3 separate regions of the Homo sapiens genome follow, and all the other regions are linked to region 2. Evidence: promoter capture Hi-C in human tissues and cell types (Jung and others, 2019). All regions are on one chromosome and are shown on one strand. The core of a region is centred on a gene start or on the middle of the fragment in contact, and the rest is flanking DNA. Distances in the headings are between cores, read along the strand shown. Region 1 overlaps LOC122539214 (Zinc finger protein LOC122539214). Region 2 holds the start of ZNF347 (zinc finger protein 347). Region 3 overlaps ZNF765-ZNF761 (ZNF765-ZNF761 readthrough).

Region 1 (4,449 bases), core at 1,039-3,538, 500 kb after region 2:
GACTTCCGTGAGTCTGAAGCGTCCTGCGTCACAAGTTTGCTCGCACTCACCCAAGGCTTTTCTCAGTCCCCGTCATCTTAAATTCTATCTCCCTTTATTGCCCAGGCTGGAGTTCACTGGAGCAATCTGGGATCACTGTAACCTCCACCTCCCAGGGTCAAGAGATTCTCATGCCTCAGCATCCCAAGCAGCTGTGATTATAGGTGTCCACCACCACTCTGGGCTAATTTTGTATTTTTAATAGAGACAGGATTTCACCATGTTGGCCAGGCTGGTCTCAAATCCCTGACTTCACTTAATCTCCTTGACAGTTTTTCACTGTTGCTAAGAATAACACACTGGCTGCCTGTGAGCATGGTGACTTCACTGCAGATATCTGGAAGTTTCCTGCAAGTTGGGGCATTGAAAACTGATTGCTTCTTCTTGGATTTGCCATTTCCTCTTTTAGATGTGGGAAGATTCCATCCCTACCCCCAGCTGCAGAGGTGCCCTCTCTGACTAAGACTATGCAAAATTTCCCACTCACTTAAGCAAAGCTTACTACTGTGGTCTTACCACCATGATTCTTACCACCATGGTCTTACCACCGCAATTCTCCTGCCTCAGCCTCCTGAGTAGCTGGGATTACAGTCGCACACCACCACACCCCGCTAATTTTTTGTATTTTTAGTAGAGATGGGTTTCACTATGTTGGCCAGACTGGTCTCGAACTCCTGACCTCATGATCTGCCCGCCTCAGCCTCCCAAGGTCGTGGGATTACAGGCGTGAGTTACCGCCCACCCAGCCGAGAAATATCTTGATAATATTACAGGAGCTCCCTCTTGGGTGAGAGTTAGCTCTTCTTTTGGCTGTTGTTAGGATTCTTTCTCTATCTCTGAATTTTGACAGTTTTATTATGATGTTGTTTGTTATAGGTCTCTTACTTAGATTTATCCATGTTGGATATTCTTAAGGTGTTGAATTTGTTTCTTTTGCATCCTGAAATTAGAAATTTTTGCCATTATGCCTTCCAACAAGCTTTTCTGTTCCTTTCTTCTTCTCACTCACTTCTGTGACTTCTGGTACTCTTTTTTTTTTTTTTGAGTTGGAGTCTTGCTCTGTTGAGGTATTGCTCCTCACAAGAGAGCATTAGCTGTGGGATCTGCATGTCAACCCTGACCTAAACCACATATGAATAAAACATACACTGACACACAGATAATTCCGTTTTGCTAGTTCTGCTGTGTTTCCGACCAGTAGCCTTAAGCAACTGTCTGAACATTTTTATATACCGTTTCTGTTGAGCTGACAACTATTGTCCCGTGATGAAACCTTAGCTTGACTCAACTTCCCCCAGAAGGTGGTAACCTCGAGTGGGCACCAATGACTTACTGATTACTCACTGGCTTGACCACGAAATCCTTCTTTGCCTTTGTTTTCGGGGGTCGCGTTCCTCATGCTTCCATCGCAGCTTTCCTCAAGAGGGCGGTCCTCACGCTTCCTTCACAGGTTGCCTCAAGAGAGGCTTGAACTGTGGGGGGTCTGTTTCTGCAGATCCCTGACTTTCCTCACACAGGACATCAACTGAGGTATTGCTCCTCACAAGAGGGCATTAGCTGCGGGGGTCTGCCCACGGACCCTGGCCCAGACGGATGAATGAAACGTACACCGACACATAGATATTCTGCTTTGCCAGTCCTGCTGGGTGCCCAATCGCCTGCACACCAAGAGCCGGCCCTGAGCAGCTCGCACTCCAGGCATTTATTTAGAATAGAATTAACAACAGAAGTTTGAGTAAACACACTTGAGGATAATTAGCATGGTTAAGAGAGTAGTTTCATGAATGATTAAAGCTCAGGTACTGTGATCTGAAGTAAATACCATTAAGGGGCAATTTCCCTGGTCAGCCTCCCGCTAGAGGGCCATCTGGCTCAAAGGTTAGTTAATGGAGGTAGGGTAAACAGGCTTAACTGGGGAAGCCTCTATTGTCCCTAGTATTTACCCTATGACCTAATGCTCTAAGGTAAGAACCGGGTGCCTTCAGCCTGTTCAATTATTACAAGCTATATAACCTTTCGGCCTTCCAAAAGGTTTGTGACTATTCCCTATAACTTTCCCTAATATTTCTCTTTAATATTTCTGCCCCTATCTTGAGTAAATCCCAACACTGTCACCCAGGCTGGAGTGCAGTGGTGCAATCTCGGCTTACTCCAGCCTCTGCCTCTGGATTCAAGCGATTCTCTCACCTCAGCTTCCCAAGTAACTGAGGTTACAGGTGCGCACCACCACACCTGGCTAATTGTTGTATTTTTGGTAGAGATGAAATTTCACCATGTTGGCCAGGCCGGTCATGAACTTCTGACCTCAGGTGATCCCCACACCCTGGCTTCCCAAAGTGCTGGAATTACAGGCGTGAGTGCTGAAATTACAGGCATGAGCCAGAACCTGGCCTGGGACTTTCATAATGTGTAGGATGGTGTCCTTGATGGTGTCCTGTTAGTCTGTTTAGACTCCCTTCATTTTTCTTTATTCTTTGTTGTTGTTTCTTTTCCTATTCACTACTTTTTTTTTTTTTTTTTGAGATGAAGTTTCACTCTGGTTGCCGAGGGTGGAGTGCAATGGCATGAACTTGGCTCATTGCAACCTCCGCTTTCATGGTTAAAGCAATTCTCCTGCCTTAGCCTTTTGAATAGCCGGGATTACAGGCATGCATCACCATACCCGGCTAATTTTGTATTTTTAGTAGAGACAGAGTTTCTCTATGTTGATCAGGCTGGTCTTGAGCTACCAACCTCAGGTGATCCCCCCGCCTTGGCCTCCCAAAGTGCTAGGATTACAGTCATGAGCCACCATGCCTGTTTTTTTTTTTAGACAGAGTTTTTCTCTTGTTGCCCAGGCTGGAGTGCAATGATGCAATCTCGGCTCACTGCAACCTCCACCTCCCAGGTTCAAGCGATTCTCCTGCCTCAGCCTCCTAAGTAACTGAGATTACAAGCATGCACCACCACATCTGGCTAATTTTGTATTTTTAGTAGAGACGGGGTTTCTCTATGTTGGTCAGGCTGGTCGCGAATTCCTGACCTCAGGTGATCCGCCTGCCTTGGCATCCCAAAGTGCTGGGATTACAGGCATGAGCTACTGTGCCTGGCCCATGCCTGGCCTTTTTTAAAAAATTATTTTATTATTTTTTGAGACAGTCTCACTCTGTCACCCAGGCTGGAGTGCAGTGGGGAGCCCACCACTACACCCAGCTAATCTTTGTATTTTTAGTAGAGACAAAGTTTCACCATATTGATGAGGCTGGTCTCCGAACTGCTGACCTCAAGTGATCTACCCACCTCAGCCTCCCAAATTCCTGATATGAGCTACCTCACCTGTCCCCTTTTCACTAATTTTTAATTTACATAATGTATTCTGATTTTGAACCCATGTATTGAGTTTTTCCATTTAGTTACTGTATTTTTAGCCCGAGAGTTTCTGTGTAGTTCTTCGTAATTTCTGTATGTTGGCTGACCTTCTCATTTTCTTCATGCATTGCATTTATGATTTCTTGAAGTTGTCTCTTAATTCAATGAGCTTCCAACTTTTGGGAGGGTGGGGGTGATAGGGTCTCGCTGTGTCCCCCAGGCTGGAGTGCAGTGGTGCAATCTTGGATCACTTCAAACTCTGCTCTCCAGGCTCAAGCAATCCTCCCACCTCAGCCTCGTGAGTAGCTGTGGATGTGTCCTCTCTAGGTCTTTGCTTATAATGTCCCGACTGAAGTTAATTGAAGTGTGTGTAGGTGTGATTTGCAATGTGTCCAGGAGAGCATTAATGGAGAAGCCCATGATTTTTTTTTTTTTTTTTTTTTTGAGACGGAGTCTCGCTCTGTCGATAGGCTGGAATGAAATGGCACTATCTCAGCTCACTGCAACCTCAGCCTCCCGAGTTCAAGTGATTCTTCTGCCTCAGCCTCCTGAGTAGCTGGGGCTACAGGCGCACACCACCATACCAAGCTAATTTTTGTGTTTTTAATAGTGTCAGTGTTTCAGCATGTTGGCCCAGCTTGTCTTAATCTCTTGACTTTGTGATCCACATGCCTCAGCCTCCATAAGTGTTCGGATTATAGGTGTGAGCCACCATGCCAAGCCAAGCCCATGGTTTTAGTAGAAAACACATTATTTGCAATATATACATACATATATTTTTATTTTGAGAAAGACTTGCTCTGTTGCCCTGGCTGGAGTGCAGTGCTGTCATCTCAGCTTACCACAACCTCTGCCTCCAGAGTTGAAGCAATTCCCCTGCCTCGGCTTCCCAAATAGCTGGGATTACAGGCACATTCCCCCACCATGCCCAGCTAATTTTTCTATTTTTAGTAGATATGGGGTTTCACAATGTAGCCCAGGTTGGTCTCAAACTCCTGACCTTAAGTGATCCACCTACCTTGGTATCCCAAAGTGACAGGATTATAGGTGTGAGCCCCCATG
Region 2 (5,042 bases), core at 2,093-4,592:
GTTTTATCCTACCTCAGTAGCATACTTCATAACAGATAACAACACTGCACCATTAAGCTATCGAAGGATCTAGAACAATGATTTCCATTGTTGGATCAAACAACATATAATTTTCAGAAACTAAGTGTATTTTGGTTTTTTTGTTTGTTTGTTTGAGATGGAGTTTCATTCTGTCACCCAGGCTGGAGTGCAGTGGCGTGATCTCGGCTCACTGCAACCTCTGTCTCCCGGGTTCAAGCAATTCTCCTGCCTCAGCCTCCCAAGTAGCTGGGATTATAGGTGCCCGTTACCACACCCGGCTAGTTTTTGTATTTTTAGTAGAGACAGGGTTTCACTATGTTGGCCAGGCTGGTCTCGAACTCCTGACCTCAAGTGATCCACCTGCCTTGGCCCCCCCAAAGCTCTGGGATTACAGGTGTGAGCCACCATGCCCAGCCCAGAAACTAATTGTATTTTGTACTTGAATTATTCTCTCCACACTCTGCCTTGGGATACTTATGTGGTATAATGAAAATCCCACAGAAAGGATATTTCAGACTCTCACACCCTGAAGTCTGCATTGCTCTTCATGCATATGCACAGTATTATTATATTTTTGCATGTCTCTTTCTTGCATGCCAAATAACACCTATGGCATTTATCTTGATGTACCTGAAGTGAAAATACAAGTATAGTAAAAATATGACATATTAGGAAACAAAAAAACTGTGGGGAATATGGATAAAAACAACAACATCTCTTTTTTACCTTTGGAATGCTCAGTGGCAATTGGAAAAATTAATATATATAAATTTTCTTTTAAGAAAGAACATAACACATTCAGATTTTTTTTTTTCCTGGCAGATAAACGACAAAGTTTGTATGTTCACCCTCATAACATTTTGATCATTTGAACTTGTGACCTCTCTACTGGAACTGTATTGAACTTCACCTAAAGGTTGGTTGAGAAGTGTTATGAGACTGTTTATTACATAATGTGGGTTTCTGGGGAAAGCTGGGTAGACTTCCAAAGCTGGTCTAAAAATGGCTTGAGAGCCCAGATAAGCAACTTGCTTGGTGTGTTATGGTTGATAAGGTGTGGGGATGGGTTAGAGGAAGCTTTGTGTGGTTTGAACGTCCATCTAGTGACAAAGGAGGAAGCACTCAAGCATGACCAGTTTGACCAAATGGGCAGAACAGAAGTGCAGAGCTGTAAAAGCGTTAGTAGTACAACATCACAAAATGGAGACTGACGCTAGTACACTGAATTATTTACTCTGGAAAGTTCTGAATTCTTGGTTTGGGAAGACCCCAGTTTTCTTTTTTGTTTGTTTGTTTTGTTTTGTTTTTTGAGACGGAGGCTTGCTCTGTCACCGGGGCTGGAATGCAGTGGCGTGATCTCGGCTCACTGCAACCTCCACCTCCCAGGTTCAAGTGATTCTCCTGCCTCAGCCTCCCAAGTAGCTGGGACTACAGGCATGTGCCACCACGCCTGGCTAATTTTTGTATTTTTAGTAGAGACAGTTTCACCATGTTGGCCAGGCTGGTCTCGAACTCCTGACCTCAAGTGATCCACCCGCCTCTGCCTCCCAAAGTGCTGGGATTACAGGTGTGAGCCACCACGCCCTGCCCTAGTTTTCTTGATAGTAATATTCTACATTTATTCTTCCGCTGTACCCATAGGACTCATTAAAAATAACACAACTGTTGAAAATGTTTTTGAAATCCTGTTTAGTTATAATGCCTAAGATGTTTTTATACTAACTCAGTGAAAATCTGTGGAAAAGTTTCTTACATAATAAATATGATTAAGCAGTTTTACTGGAAGGGCATTTCTCCAAAGGCTATGGAAATGTTATTTTCAGTTTATGGTATTGAGCAATATATTTCATGGTTTATGTTCAATTGTAGTAAAATTACTTTTTATTTTTTAATATGATTTTCCCTTTTATTTTTTTCTTTCATATATTGTAACCCAGATGAAACGTTTAATATTTTGTTAAAGTGAAAACTATACGGTGTATATAAATAAGGGTGTTGTTTGGAGATAAAATTGTGTGACATGAAAATGTACATAAGACAATAGCAGGTATAAACTAGGTTCTCTATAAACATGAAAAAAGGGTATCCCTGTGAGTCTTTAGTTCAGTCAATGTACTGGGATGGTACGTTAGAAATACTGGAAAACTATTCTTTAGGCGAAAATAAATCCAATTGTCATGTGGTGACTATTTTCCACACTCTGTTATCCACATCTGATAGAACATTAAGAAACAGAAAACAAAAAAATAGACCCAATATAGATTACAATTTTAAAATAAAAAGTACTGTGTCAAGTTCCCTTCAGAATGCCCATAAAGTGAATTTGAAATTACATGATATTTAGAAATTATTGATTTAAGCATATTTTGATGCAAAGAAAGATTATGTCAAAGTTGTTTGTGGTTAAGTCATTTCAAGTGTGGAACGGAATAACGAATATAAGCAAAAATAATGCAGTTTATCTCTATTTTTTAAAAATTCACATGGTTTAAATCAGTAGTTGACTGGGCACAGTAGTTCACTCCTGTAATCCCAGCAATTTTGGAGGCCCAGGCAGGAGGATTGCTTGAGGTCAAGAGTTGGAGACCAGCCTGGGCCGAGACTCCCATCTTTACAAAAATATATGTTTTAAAGAACAATAAAGCAGCCCTTGGTGATCTAACTTATCGGCCTTAACCTTCCCATGAATTGAGCACAGGCTTGACTCTTCCACTGGGGAGAATGGGGATTTGAAATGTAAAGGAGGTTCTGTTGGGCTACTGCATTAAATTGCATATCCGTCCAGGTAGGATGCTGCATTTCCCATTCTACTTTGAATCATCCTCAGAGATAATTTCCAGACATTTTAGTTAAATTAAATACATTTTAATTGCAGGAATTGCTGGATCCAATCGCCGTGCCTCGTGGATCCTCCACTAAGATCCCAGTTCCCAGACCGAGATCCCCGATTCCCAGATCCCCGTTCCTGAGCTGCAGCAGACTCCCTAGCAGGACTGGGTCCAACCCGCCGGCAAACAATTTTAACATAAACCGTTTTCAACTTGGTAAGAGGAAATCATTTTGGTTTCTATCATAAGTGGTCCACGTAAGTCTATTCTTTCACCTTAAAACTGCTTCAAATTGGAACGGTGCTCCCGGGGACATAGTGAACACTCCAGCGTTTCTAAACCGGGAAAAATGAGACTGCGGGCTAGGCAGGCTGAGGGAAGCGCAGACCCCGCCCCAGCTCCGCCCCAGCGTTTCGTCCGCAGACCCCGCCTCTCCCCAGGCCCCGCCCCCAGAGTGCCCGGGCTCTTTTCCGCGCACGCGCAGTTTTCTGCAGTTCCGGAAGCGGATCGTGTTGGGTGCGGGTGACGCCGCCGAGCGTGAGTGTCCCTCAGTATGGATTAAACTTGCGAACCGCCGTGCCCCGTTTCCGCAGCCAGTTCCCGGGCTCGCTACAGACCTTTTTTTTTTTCTTTTTTTTTTTTTTTGGTGAGACGGAGATTTACTCTTGTTGTCCAGGCTGGAGTGCAATGGCGCGATTTCGGCTCACCGCATCCTCCGCCTCCCAGGTTCAAGCGATTCTCCTGCCTCAGCCTCCCGAGTAGCTGGGATTACAGGCATGTGCCACCACGCCCGGCTAATTTTGTATTTTTAGTAGAGACGGGGTTTCACCGTGTTGCCCAGGCTGATCTCGAACTCCTGACCTCAGGTAATCCGCCCGCCTCGGCCTCCCAAAGTGCTGGGGTTACAAGCGTGAGCCACTGCGCCCGGCAGCTACAGACCTTAAGATCCCCGCACCGCGCCCTCCACCCCAGCTGACTCGCGGTGTGGGTTCGGAGTCGCTTCTCTTTGGGTTGAAGTAGCTCTGAGGCTTCTCCCTGTCCCCGGCCTTTCGCGTCTTCCTCCCGCTTAAAACCCTTTCCTGACCCCTCCTCCCGCCCCGGGCTTTTTAAAGTCCTCGCCCGCGAGGTGGATTCCCGCCCTGGGTGCCTCCCAGCCTCGCCCTCGTCGGCCCCTGGAGCGCAGCTCCTCAGCCCCGGTACCGGCGAGGCCGCGTCCTCTGCCTGGTCCTGGCATCCTGCAGACCCCACCCCTCTTCTAAGGCGCCGTCGCCCCGCCACCTCCCTCCTCCTCGTGCCGGGCCCTGCTGCTCCCCAGGCCTCCCCTTCGCAGTCCCCGCTTCTCCTGAGCCCGCGCTGGGGAGGTGCCCGGGGCCTGTCCTGTGACACCCGGTGTTCTTGCCTGCCCAGCTCCAGCCCCTGGAAAATGCGCTCCTCCAAGATGCAGGCGTCTTAGTCCAAACCTTCCTGTGAATGTGTGGACCAAGGGGATTAGCAGGTAGAGAAAGGGGCAGAGACAGAGAGAGAAGTAGAAAAACTGAGAGGAAAGAGTGAGGGAAACCCGTAACCAGATGGCAAAGTAGAGGATGGGCGAGGGATTTGCAGATGGTAAGAGAAGGAGCTGAGAAGGCAGAAGGAGAAAAGCAACTGGGGAAATGTAGAGAAAAGCTCGATGTCCAGAGACATGAAGGACAGCAAGGTAGGGAGAGGGCCAGAAAGTGGGAGGCTCCTCAGACAGAGTCCGGGAGAGGAGGAGGGATTTGGAGCCAGGGCAGACAAGCAGCGTGGTGCTGGGACAGCAAGAGGGGACAGCCGGTGACGAGGAGAGCAGAAGGAGAACCACAGCAGGGGGAGGCCTGGGATCTGGGGGTGCCAGAGAGTGGGGCAAGAGGTGTAGAAGGGAAGAGGAGATTCAACAGAGGGAGCAGAGATGGGAGAAGAAAGAGGCAGAAATATATGGAGACTGGGGACAATGAAAAGACTGGGGAGAAAGAGGAATCAGAGTTGAAACAAGGCCCCAGAATGGGACAGAACAGGTGCAAGCGGAGGAAGAAGGGGAGAAATAGCAGGAGATGAGAGGGGCTCAGAACGACGCGCAAAGAACCAGGGGAAAAACACAGAAAATAAAAAATAAGCTAATGTGAGAATGAGAGCTATGTAGAGGATGAGGGAGGGAAACACACAGTATGGAAGCAA
Region 3 (4,977 bases), core at 2,296-4,795, 300 kb before region 2:
AACCTCCTCCTCCTGGGTTCAAGTGATTCTCCTTTCTGTGGGGAAAAGAGAGAGAGATCAGATTGTTACTGTGTCTATGCAGAAAAGGAAGACATAAGAAACTCCACTTTGATCTGTACTAAGAAAAATTGTTCTGCTTCGAGATGCTGTTAATCTGTAACTATAGCCTCAACCCTGTGCTCACAGAAACATGTGTTGTATTGAATCAAGGTTTAATGGATTTAGGGCTGTGCAGGGTGTGCCTTGTTAATATGTTTGCAGGCAGTATGCTTGGTAAAAGTTATCGCTGTTCTCCATTCTCTGTTAACCAGGGACACAATGCACTGCGGAAAGCCGCAGGGACCTCTGCCCTAGAAAGCCTGGGTATTGTCCAAGTTTCCCCCAACTGAGACAGCCTGAGATATGGCCTCATGGGAAAGGAAAGGCCTTACCATCCCCCAGCCTGACACCTGTAAAGGGTCTGTGCTGAGGAGGAGTAGTGAAAGAGGGAGGCCTCTTTGCAGTTGAGATAAGAGGAAGACTTCTGTCTCCTGCTCATCCCTGGGAATGGAATGTCTCAGTGTAAAGCCGACCATTCGTTCTATTCTGAGATAGGAGAAAACTGCCCTATGGCTGGAGGCGATATGCTGGCAGCAATACTGCTCTGTGACTCTTTGCTACACTGAGATGTTTGTGTAAAGTGAAACATAAATCTAGCCTACGTGCACATCCACAGTACCTTTCCTTGAACTTATTCATGATACAGATTCCTTTGCTCACTTGTTTCCCTGCTGACCTTCTCCCTACCGTCACCCCGTTGCCCTGCCGCACTCCCCTCGCCAAGATAGTAAAAATAGTGATCAATAAATACTAAGGGAACTCAGACCAGCGCCAGTGCGGGTCCTCGCATGTTGAGCGCCAGTCTCCTGGGCCCACTGTTCTTTCTTTATACTTTGTCTCTGTGTCTTATTTCTTTTCTCAGTCTCTCATCTGATGAGGAATACCCACAGATGTGGAGGGGCAGGTCCCCTTCGCTGTCTCAGCCTCCCGAGTAGCTGGGATTACAGGCATGCGCCACCACACCTGGCTCATTTTGTATTTTTAGTAGAGACAGGGTATCGCCATATTGGTCAGGCTGGTCTTGAACTCCCGACCTAAGGTGATTTGCCTGTCTCCACCTCCCAAAGTGCTGGGATTACAGTCATGAGCCATTGCGCCTGGCCTCTACGTAGCTTTTGGGCAACAGATCGAGACACTGCCTCAAAGCAAACAAACAAACAAAACAAAAAACTGATGTGATCTGCCTGCCGCTCCTAGCATCACCTTCAACACTGTCTTGTCCCAATTCGAAATGAGTTATCCATTTACAAATGGTTTATTTCTTTTGGGCATCATCTCCATAACCTTTTCATAAAGTATCAATGATTCCATTATTCCTCTTCCCAAACTTTACCATAATTTTGTTGTTGCTGTTGTTGTTTTTTTGAGACGGAGTCTCACTCTGTCCCCCAGGCTGGAGTGCAGTGGCATGATCTCGGCTCACTGCAAGTTCTGCCTCCCGGGTTCATGCCGTTCTCCTGCCTCAGCCTCCCTGAGTAGCTGGGACTACAGGCACCCTCCAGCATGCCCGGCTAATTTTTTTTTTTTTTTGTATTTTTAGTAGAGACGGGATTTCACCGTGTTAGCCAGGATGGTCTCAATCTCCTGACCTCATGATCCACCCGCCTCAGCCTCCCAAAGTGCTGGGATTACAGGATTGAGCCACGCCGCCCGGCCCATAATTATTCTTTTATTGAGACAGTATCTCACTCCATCACCCACGCTGGAGTGCAGTGGCATGACCACAGCTCACTGCAGCCTCGACCTCCCAGGCTCAAGCCATCCTCCACCACAGACTCCACAGTAGCTGGCCCTGCAGTCAGATGCCACCATGCCCAGCTAATTTTTGTATTTTTTGTAGACAAGGGGGTTTCACCATGTTGCCCAGGCTCGTCTTGAATACCTGGGCTCATGTGACCCACCTGTCATGGCCTCTGAAAGTGCTGGGATTATAGACCTGAGACACTGCATCTGATCTCATCGTAAATTTGATGTTTCTTCTTGTTTCAATTTTAGCAGAATTTATATTGCTTTGATAGAGTCTCTTTTCAAACTCATGTCTTATCCTTCTGAGTGCCTTAAACTACAGCCTGTTCAGACATAACAGACTTGTACCAGTGTTTTGTTGCAAAAACTAAAATTCATGCAAATTTTCTCATAATAGGTATTTTTCCATGAACTTCTTCAAGATCCATTGTACTAGAAAACTGTATTCAAGAGGACATTAAAAAAATGTAGATATTCAAGTGCCACTTATTTCTGGGATGCAAGGATGGTTCAACATATTCAAGCAAATCAATGTGATATACCACTTGAACAGAACAAAAGATGAAAACCACATCATCTTAATAGAGAAAAAGCATTTCACAAAATTCAAAATCCAGTCATCATAGAAATCCTAAACAAAATAGACAGAAAAGGAAATTTACCTCAACAATAGAAAGACCGTCCATGAAATGACCAATGAGTAAACAGTCAAGCAGGGAAAATGTAATGCCTTTCCTGGAGGCTCTCACATGATGCAAGAATGCTCTCACCCCTTCTATTCAATCAATACTGGCTGTCCCAGCCAGAGCAATGAAATAGCAGAGGAAATAAAACTCATCCAAATCAGAAAGTAAGAAGTAAAATTATATTTGTTTGTAGATGACATAATCTTCTGTGTAGAAAATCACAAAGAGCCAACCAAAATACTACTGGAACTAAGTAACATAGTCAGTGGATTTGCACAATACAGTATCAGCACCAAAAATTAGTTGAATTTCCATACTTTAACAATAAACAATTTTAAAAGAAAATTTTAAAACACTTCCATTTGCTGGAGAACTTAAAGAAATACTTAGAAATAAACGTACAAAGGTCAGAAGTTTGTACCTTGAAATCTACAAACATTGATCAAAATGATTAAAAACATTGAGCTACAACCCATATTGATAGCTTGGAAAAATTAATATTGTGAAATGATTATATAATAACCCAATGTGATTTAGATTCAACATGATATCCATAAAAATCCCTATCAGTTTTTTTAAAGAAACAAAAAACAGGCTGGGAAAATGGCTCACGTCTGTTGGCCAGGCTGATCTCAAACTCCTGACCTCAAGTGATCTACCCACCTTGGCCTCCCAAAGCGCTCAGATTACAGGTGTAAGCTGATGTGCCTGGCCCAATCCTCTTAACATAAACACTAATGTCAATTAATGCTTGAACTCAATGTTAAGTCAATACAAACTCAAGTCAATGCTGAATTGACCCTAATGTCAATTAATGCTTGATGGTTTGCTCTACTCATTGCATATGGACCAACTACCTCCAAAATGAATTTTCTCATATTCTGCAAGGAGTGAACTCAGACTGAAGACCTTGGCACATTGATGACATTTGTAAGATTTCTGTCCAGTATGCATTCTCTGATGTCTCATGAGGTGTGAAGTGAAGGCTTTGCCACTATCATCACACATGTGAGGTTTCTCTCCTGTATGAATTCTCCTATGTTTTGCATAGGATGAAGCTTGACTGAAGACCTTGCCACAGTCATGACATTTGTAAGGTTTCTCTCCAGCGTTGAGTTCACCGATGAACTGCAAGGTATGAACAATGTCTGAAAAATCTGCCACATTTATTACCCTAGTATGATCTCTCTTCCTTATGGATTCTCCAGTGATTCACAATGGTTGTAGCATTACTGAAGACTTTGTGACAATCATTACCTTAGTAAAGTTTCCCTACACCATGGATTGCCTGACGGTAAACAAGTGTTGACTGCCTACTAAAGGCTTTGCCACACTCATTACACTGGTAAGGTTTCTCTCCAGTGTGAATTCTAGCATGTTGTGCCAGGTGCGAATCATGCCCAAAAGCCTTGTCACAAACTCTTACATTTTTATGGTTTCTCTCCAGTATGAATTCTCCTGTCTTTCACGGTTTGATGTGCGACTGTAAACTTTGTGACATTCTTCACATTTATAAGCTTTCTCTCCAGTATGAATTCTCCTGTCTTCTGAGGCTTGATTTGCCACTGTAAACTTTATCACATGCTTCACATTTCTAAGGTTTCTCCCCAGTATGAATTCTATGATGACCTGCAAGGTGTGCTTGTTGATTAAAAACCTCACCACATTCATTACACTTGTTTTTCTCCAGTATGAAGTCTACGATGGCATGTAAGGTTTGACTTCTGACTAAAGGTCTTGCCACACTCATTACACTTGTAAGGTTTCTCTCCAGTATGAAGTCTATGGTGGCATATAAGGGATGACTTCTGACTAAAGTTCTTGCCACACTCATTACACTTATAAGGTTTCTCTCCAGTATGAAGTCTATGATGGCATATAAAATATGACTTCCGACTAAAGGTCTTGCCACACTCATTACACTTGTAAGGTTTCTCTCCAGTATGAATTCTCCTATGTCCTTCAAGGTTTGATTTCACACGGAAAGCTTTGTCACATTCTTCACATTTGTAAGGTTTCTCTCCGGTATGAAGTCTACGATGGCATGTAAGGGATGACGTCCGACTGAAGGTCTTGCCACACTCATTACACTTGTAAGGATTCTCTTCAGTATGAATTTTCTGATGTATTTCAAGGTTTGATTTGAAACTGTAAGCTTTGTCACTATCTTCACATTTGTAAGGGTTCTCTCCACTATGAAGTCTACGATGGCGTTTAAGGGTTAACTGCTGATTGAAGGTCTTGCCACACTCCTTACACTTGTAAGGTTTCTCTCCAGAATGAAGTCTACGATGGCAGGTAAGGGATGACTTCCAACTAAAGGTCTTGCCGCACTCATTACACTTGTAAGCTTTCTCTCCAGTATGAAGTCTATGATGGCATGTGAGGTATGACTTCCGACTAAAGGTCTTGCCACACTCATTACACTTGTATGGTTTCTCTCCAG

What was found. The method cuts DNA at HindIII sites, captures the fragments that hold promoters and counts their contacts. A contact is called where the count stands out against the background at its distance.
Region 1: a fragment that was not itself captured here is called in contact with the fragment with the promoter of ZNF347 in region 2 in 1 of the 25 tissues and cell types used here (aorta).
Region 3: a fragment that was not itself captured here is called in contact with the fragment with the promoter of ZNF347 in region 2 in 3 of the 25 tissues and cell types used here (hippocampus, mesenchymal stem cells and pancreas).

The regions. Positions count from the first base shown.
Region 1 is chr19:52,656,247-52,660,695 of GRCh38, reverse strand. All of the region lies in intron 2 of LOC122539214 (Zinc finger protein LOC122539214), which reads left to right. It also overlaps a transcript of ZNF83 not described here. Among named protein-coding and RNA genes, the nearest start is that of ZNF83, 20 kb to the right of the region's middle. The HindIII fragment of the contact is 3,021 bases long and covers 778-3,798 here.
Region 2 is chr19:53,157,353-53,162,394 of GRCh38, reverse strand. ZNF347 (zinc finger protein 347) reads left to right here and starts at 3,342. Exons shown (of 5, transcript NM_032584.3): 1 at 3,342-3,386. RefSeq lists a silencer at 3,160-3,409 and an enhancer at 3,145-3,439. The HindIII fragment of the contact is 7,458 bases long and covers 1-5,042 here.
Region 3 is chr19:53,455,973-53,460,949 of GRCh38, reverse strand. ZNF765-ZNF761 (ZNF765-ZNF761 readthrough) reads right to left here. Exons shown (of 13, transcript NM_001350496.2): 13 at 2,689-4,977. The coding sequence ends at 4,202. ZNF761 (zinc finger protein 761) reads right to left here. Exons shown (of 5, transcript NM_001289951.2): 5 at 2,689-4,977. The coding sequence ends at 4,202. Among named protein-coding and RNA genes, the nearest start is that of ZNF813, 9.3 kb to the left of the region's middle. The HindIII fragment of the contact is 5,248 bases long and covers 922-4,977 here.